Regions from separate parts of the Homo sapiens genome. Here region 2 is linked to region 1. Evidence: promoter capture Hi-C in human tissues and cell types (Jung and others, 2019). All regions are on one chromosome and are shown on one strand. Each heading gives the region's core, a stretch centred on a gene start or on the middle of the fragment in contact. The rest is flanking DNA. Distances are from core to core; before and after follow the strand shown. Region 1 holds the start of WFDC1 (WAP four-disulfide core domain 1). Region 2 overlaps ATP2C2 (ATPase secretory pathway Ca2+ transporting 2).

Evidence for each region. Contacts are between HindIII fragments. The study calls those that stand out against the background at their distance.
Region 2: a contact is called between a fragment that was not itself captured here and the fragment with the promoter of WFDC1 in region 1, in 3 of the 25 tissues and cell types used here (dorsolateral prefrontal cortex, mesendoderm cells and spleen).

What each region holds. Positions count from the first base shown.
Region 1 is chr16:84,293,330-84,296,279 of GRCh38, reverse strand. It overlaps WFDC1 (WAP four-disulfide core domain 1), which reads right to left and starts at 1,402. Exons shown (of 7, transcript NM_021197.4): 1 at 1,165-1,402. The coding sequence starts at 1,308. LOC124903734 reads right to left here. Exons shown (of 6, transcript XM_047435022.1): 5 at 2,645-2,763; 6 at 1,442-1,947. The coding sequence ends at 1,442. The HindIII fragment of the contact is 18,601 bases long and covers 1-2,950 here.
Region 2 is chr16:84,421,208-84,424,163 of GRCh38, reverse strand. It overlaps ATP2C2 (ATPase secretory pathway Ca2+ transporting 2), which reads right to left. Exons shown (of 27, transcript NM_014861.4): 8 at 1,625-1,774; 9 at 1,467-1,535; 10 at 901-976. Among named protein-coding and RNA genes, the nearest start is that of ATP2C2-AS1, 45 kb to the left of the region's middle. The HindIII fragment of the contact is 6,725 bases long and covers 1-2,956 here.

The DNA of each region.
Region 1 (2,950 bases), core at 153-2,652:
AAGTCACAATTATTTGATTGAAAGCTGCCAAGATGCACTGCCAGCTTGCTATGTTGCAAAGACGTTCTACATACTGAGACATTCAATCCTCACACAGGTGCTGTGGGTGCCAGCATTACCTTCTTGAGCCCTCTGTGTGCTGATATCGTCCTGGCTCACTCCGTCCCTGCGGATCTGTGATCTCTGGGGGGTGGGAGGAACCAAAAATGATAGCCTCCTCCACCCCATTCTCTCTCCTAGTTCCCTTCCTGCTTTATTGCTTCCTCAGCACTTGCAATCTGCACATACTAATAAATGAGATCTCTCTCATTTATTCTTTGCTGCCCCCAGCCCCCCATTGAGTTCCCCAGGCAGAGATGTGAGGCCTGTATCCCCACAGCCTAGGACAGTACCTGGTAAACAGTGGCGACCCAGACATAGTTGTGTGAAGAAATGCATCCCTCTGTCTTTTGCAGATGAGATTGCTGGGGTTCAGAGACGTCAAGCAGCTTGCCTGAGAGAAGCCACGCAGCTAATGAGCAGCAGAGCCCGATTCACACCCAGACATCTGGCCCCAGGGCATGTGTTTCTTGCCACTCACTGCCTCATGCCTTCTCTTTGTACTGCCATCGTTTGTCACCCAACTGCCTCTGCACCTCGGCCACGCCACCCTTGAGGATGGGGGCTGGTACCTCCTTTATCTTGTATCCACAGGACCCCACAGAGTGCCTTCCCCAGAGCGGTTTCTGCTAAATTCTGTTTAACAGAGTGTATTCATTCTGTTTGCTGAATGAATAAACAACCACATGAATGCATAAGTGTATTTCACAAACATTTGGTACTGATCAGGGAGACGGAATGCTCCGTTTAAATCCTGGGGTTCCGAAATGAGATGCTGTCTTTCAGGAGCAAGCATACTTTTGTAACAAGGCAAAAGTAAGGCACGATTCTTTGGCACATTTGTGATGTGTCTTTTGCCTCTTGATTCACAGATAAGGGTCCTTTTTTGGGGGTGAGCCCCATCTGCCCACCACACAACTCAGACACACACGGATAGGAAGACGCCTGCCTTGCCACGTTTTGGGGGAGCACTTACAGGAGAAGGCAGTGTCTAGGGATCGCCTCTCCTCAAGGCTGACTCCCACCCACACAGGCTGCCCCAGCCTCCCCATCCCAGGCACTTACACGGGATTTCTCGGCCAGCCTCGCAGGCAATGCCCGTTTCCAGATATTCTTGGCAGAGCCGGCGTGGAGGAGAAGTAGCAAGAGGCACAGAGCCCGGATGATCTGCCTCCTGCAGCTGCCCGGCCCCACGCCGGTTAAAGGCATTTCCTCCCTGGGCAGCGACCTTCCAGACGCACACAGAAGAGGGGCCCCCCTCGCTGCGTGGGCCTGTGAGTGGGGACAGGAGCGTGCACAGTCTGCTGGACTTTCTTAGTTCCACCCAGCAGGGTCCCTCGGATCATGTGTCCGCGTCCAGCACATGCCCCTTCCTCGATGGTGGCTGGCCTGCCCGGTTATTTTTAGCTTGCCCTATAACATCTGGCCCCAGACGCTCCAACCAGGGCGTCTGCAGCCCAGGCAGCTCAGTGGGCGGTGGCAGCAGGAGGAGGGGGCACCGGCTTGCTTGGAGACGTGGCCGGGAGTGGCCTGTCACTCTCCACTCTCCATAATGAGCACTTCCTTGCAGGCTGGGGCGGTCTCCTCCCAAGGAGGTGTGCTTGACACAGGGCTCGGGGCTGGACATGCAGGGGAGTGCAGCCGGATGGGTGGGGGCTCGGCTGCTACCTTGTTCACATTTCGAGCTGGGCTGACAAACTATCTGCCTATAAAAGCTTCTTTGAAAGAGGCTGCTGGACTGGCACTGGCCAAGGGTGCAGCCATGAAGAGACGACTTCCACCCTTGCACCCGCCGGGGTCCTCCTGCCTGATGTGGGCATGTGGGTAGTTCCTCATAGCGTGTGTTTCCTGTGAGATTTAAAAGAAATTGAGCACATAAAGCATTTCACACACATAAGTGTGCTGTCACTGTCAGCCGGTGTATCTGCACATGTGCATTTATGTGTATGCGTGTGTGCACGTGGGTGTGCATGTGCACGTGTGTGTTTTACAGGAATGTAGCACAGCGGGCTCAACATTTCACAAACTTCATATTCCCTTGTCTGTTCTCAGCACTTCCAAGACAGATACTGGTTTTTTGTTTTGTTTTGTTTTTCGAGACGGGTCTTGCTCTGTCACCCACGCTGGAGTGCAGTGGTGTGATCACAGATCACTACAACCTCTGCCTCCCGGGTTCAAGCGATTCTCCTGTCTCGGCCTTCCAAGTAGCTGGGATAACAGGCATGTGCCACCATGCCTGGCTAATTTTTGTATTTTTAGTGGAGACTGGGTTTCACCATGCTGGCCAGGCTGGTCTCAAACTCCTGACCTTAAGTGATCTGCCCGCCTCAGCCTCCCAAAGTGCTGGTATTACAGGTGTGTGAGCCACCACACCCGGCCCCAAAACAGACACTGTTTTGATGCCCGCTTTACAGATGAGGAAACAGAGGGGGCTGCCTGAGGTCATGCAACAGCAGCAGAGAGGAGGCTGGAACCCAGGTAGGTCAGACCCTGTGGCACCCCCCTAGGCGAAGCAGAAGGGACCCAAGCACTAGGCTTGACGCACCTGCCTGATCCCAGTTCAGCCTCTGCGAGATGCTGGAAAGCCTCTTGCTCATGGTCCTCAGTTCTCTCATCTGTGAAATGGGCATGTGAAAGTCTCTGCCTCTTGAGATCGATGTGGGGCTACAGGAGAGGGTGCCAGCTGTGCCCAGCACTTGCACAGAGTGAGTGCTCCAGAAAGATTGGTTCCTCCCTCCCTGGGGACCCTCACCCCCCACCTCCTGGCCAGCACAGCCTTCAGAATGCCCTGGGCAGGTATCATCAACCCCTCTTGGCCTTTTAGTGAATGACAATAGTGGCAAACACATAT
Region 2 (2,956 bases), core at 253-2,752, 130 kb before region 1:
TTTTGGCTACACTCACCAGCACCCCCCTCATCACTAGATGTGCTATAGGCAGTGGCTTGTTGGTTTATTCCTTGATTAAATGTTTTACTCAACAAATATTTACTGAGAATCTATTAGGGGCCAGGCATGGGTTGATCCTAAAGGCTGGAATAAAGGACACAGAAGTAAGGCCAGATATGGAAAGAACAGGAAGAAGCCCCAGAAGGGACTGGGGCAGCACTATGGGGATGTCAAGCCTTAAGATCTAGATTCAGAACCGCAGCATCATGTCAATGCTGTTTGTTGTGTTACCAAAGGTCAGGAAGTCCCAGTCCAGGAACAGCCTGCTTAGAAGCATAGAAATATGTTTGGGTGCACAGATAAACTACATTTCCCAGTCTCCTTTGCAGTTATGTAGGCCATGTGACTCCATTCTGGCCAATAAAAGATGGTCAAATTGATGATTCCACTTCCTGGTCTATGCCTTAAAAATGTCCTCCACAAGCCTCCATGTTTCCTCTTTCACCATCTGCTGGCTGAACAGAAACATGGCCTCCAAGGACCCAGAGGAAGATAGAGCAGCAATGTAACAGGGGCCTGGGCCCAAGTCACTGTTTGTAGGCGAGCTATCCAGGAGAGCCACTGGACCAGGAATACACCCACGGACTTTGGACTGCGGTGTGAGCAAGGAACAAGCGTTTACTCTGTTAAGCCAAGAAAATGTAGTGGCTGCTTGTTACAGCAGCCAGCCTGGTCCAACTATACAGAAAGCTCTTGTTGCTTGTGGAGAGCCTCTGATCCCAATCCCCAAGCCTTATGCAGCTGAGTAGCAAGATATTTGAGAAACGGCCATGGCAACCCCCCTATGATGGCTCCCCTCCATCTGCAGAACAAACCCAGTATGGAAACTGCTTCACTCACCGATTATGCCAAAGGAGAAGAGTGTCAGTTGCTTTCCTAGCCTGTCCATGCTTTTCTGCAAAGGAGTTTTAGGTGTCTGAAAGGGTGAGCACAATGGGTTAGTTGGACAAGATCCTAGCTTCTGCCTGCCTTTGTTCAAAATGTCTTCACCTTGCCATCCTACAGCTTCAGTGATGATTACACAGGGGTACACATATGTCAACATTCATTGACTTTTGCACTGAAGACCTGTGCGTATTACTGTCTGAAAGCTGTATCTTTATCAAAATGCTAACAAATGTCTTACGTGTTTGAAAAGAGGCCAGGTGTGGTGGCTTATGCCTGTAATCCTGGCACTTTGGGAGGCTGAGGCAGACAGATTGCTTGAGCTCAGGAGTTTGAGACCAGCCTGGGCAACATGGCGAAACCCTGTCTCTATTAAAAAAAAAAATTAAATGTTTAAAAAGTATACTCATATGAACCACATGCCACTCATTCCTAAGGAGTAGGCAAGGCTGGTATTATTTGCCTATAATAATCTCAAACTCCAGCTTACAAAAGTCCCGAAGCCCCCTCCTGCCCCTTACCTCTTCAGCCTGCATCATCTTAAACACTTCTCCGAACTGAGAGCTTTCCCCTGTTCCAATCACGACCCCCTGTGTCCAGGAGAGAGAGAAGTATGAAATCTAAGGGCTGGGAGCCTGTGGGTTACGGGAGCCCAAGGCCTCGGTGTCCCAGGGCTTACCTGGCCCCTCCCATACTGCACCAGGGTCCCCATGAAGACGATGTTGCTGAGGGTGGTGAGGTCCCCACCGCCTGTCAAGGGGCTGTCTGTTTTACTACATGGCTCGGCTTCCCCGGTGAAACTGGATTCATCCACCAAGAGGTCCGTGACCTAGGAGAGCAAGGGGAAAAGGCTGTGGAATCTCTCTGTCACCCCGAGAATTGGTGTTAAAAGCACAAAATGGTACCAGCACCTTCATGGACATGAACTCAAGAACACAGTGAACCTACAGAATGAGTGTCACAACGACGGCCTCTGAGGCCTCCAGGATCAGAAAAGCTTTGAATGAGCGGCCTCTCTTAAAAACATAAAAGTCTCATATCTTTGCTTAATGTTGTTCGAAATTTTGATACAATCTAAAAAAAAAATGAAGGTGATGGCTATTTTAGGATATACCTTTCAAAACACCTGTGTGAGTCCCCACATACGCAGCCCACTCTTTACCTTGGAGATGCCTGTACAATCTGTATGGTTCCCACACAATCCCACACAATAACCGAGCCAGGTTATTCAGTCAGAATCTAAGGCAACAGTAACACCAGAAACACAGACAGGGACACAGAGACACTCACACACCCTGGCAAAGGGAAGGGAGATACTGACATTTGCAGAACACTGACTACACACCAGGCCCTGTGCGCAGCTCCCCACAAGGCTTAGCCCTCAGAACTCACCACCCCCAATGGAAGACTCTACTATCTTCCCCATTTTGCATATGGGGAAACTGAAGCATGGAAGAATTAAGTAATTTGTTCAAGTTTCCGTAGCTAGTTAGTGGCAAAACAGAGATTTGAACCGAAGCTCTGGTTCCAGAAACGATACTCTTAACCATCTTGCAAAACCGCAACTTGACCCCAGACTTAACACATCTCACTCCCGAGGTGAGGCTCCCAGGGCCAGAACCGTGCCAGACACCTCTGAGTTCATAAAGCGGGGCTGGGTGGGCCTATCCCTAGGGACCTGGTCATGTAAGCATGTAACACCAAGCTAGAGAGAAGCCATCTTCCACAAACCACCAGAGAACCACAGCTAGATCAATGATTCTCAAACAGGGACCTGCGACTTCTCTATAATTTAAAACTATTTAAATTTAGTAGTCATCTTTTAAAAATATGTGCACTGCCATAGCATCTCAGTCCCCAAGAACGACAGTGGCCGCCTGTCACCCAGGTAATGCCCGTCTCCCCACTTCCTTCCCAGTGGACCCCACAGCGTCAGGGAGGCGAGGCCTCCGGCTGCGCAGTCACATTCCCACCTCCCTGTGGCTCCCGCGGCTCCAGCTCTGGACAATGA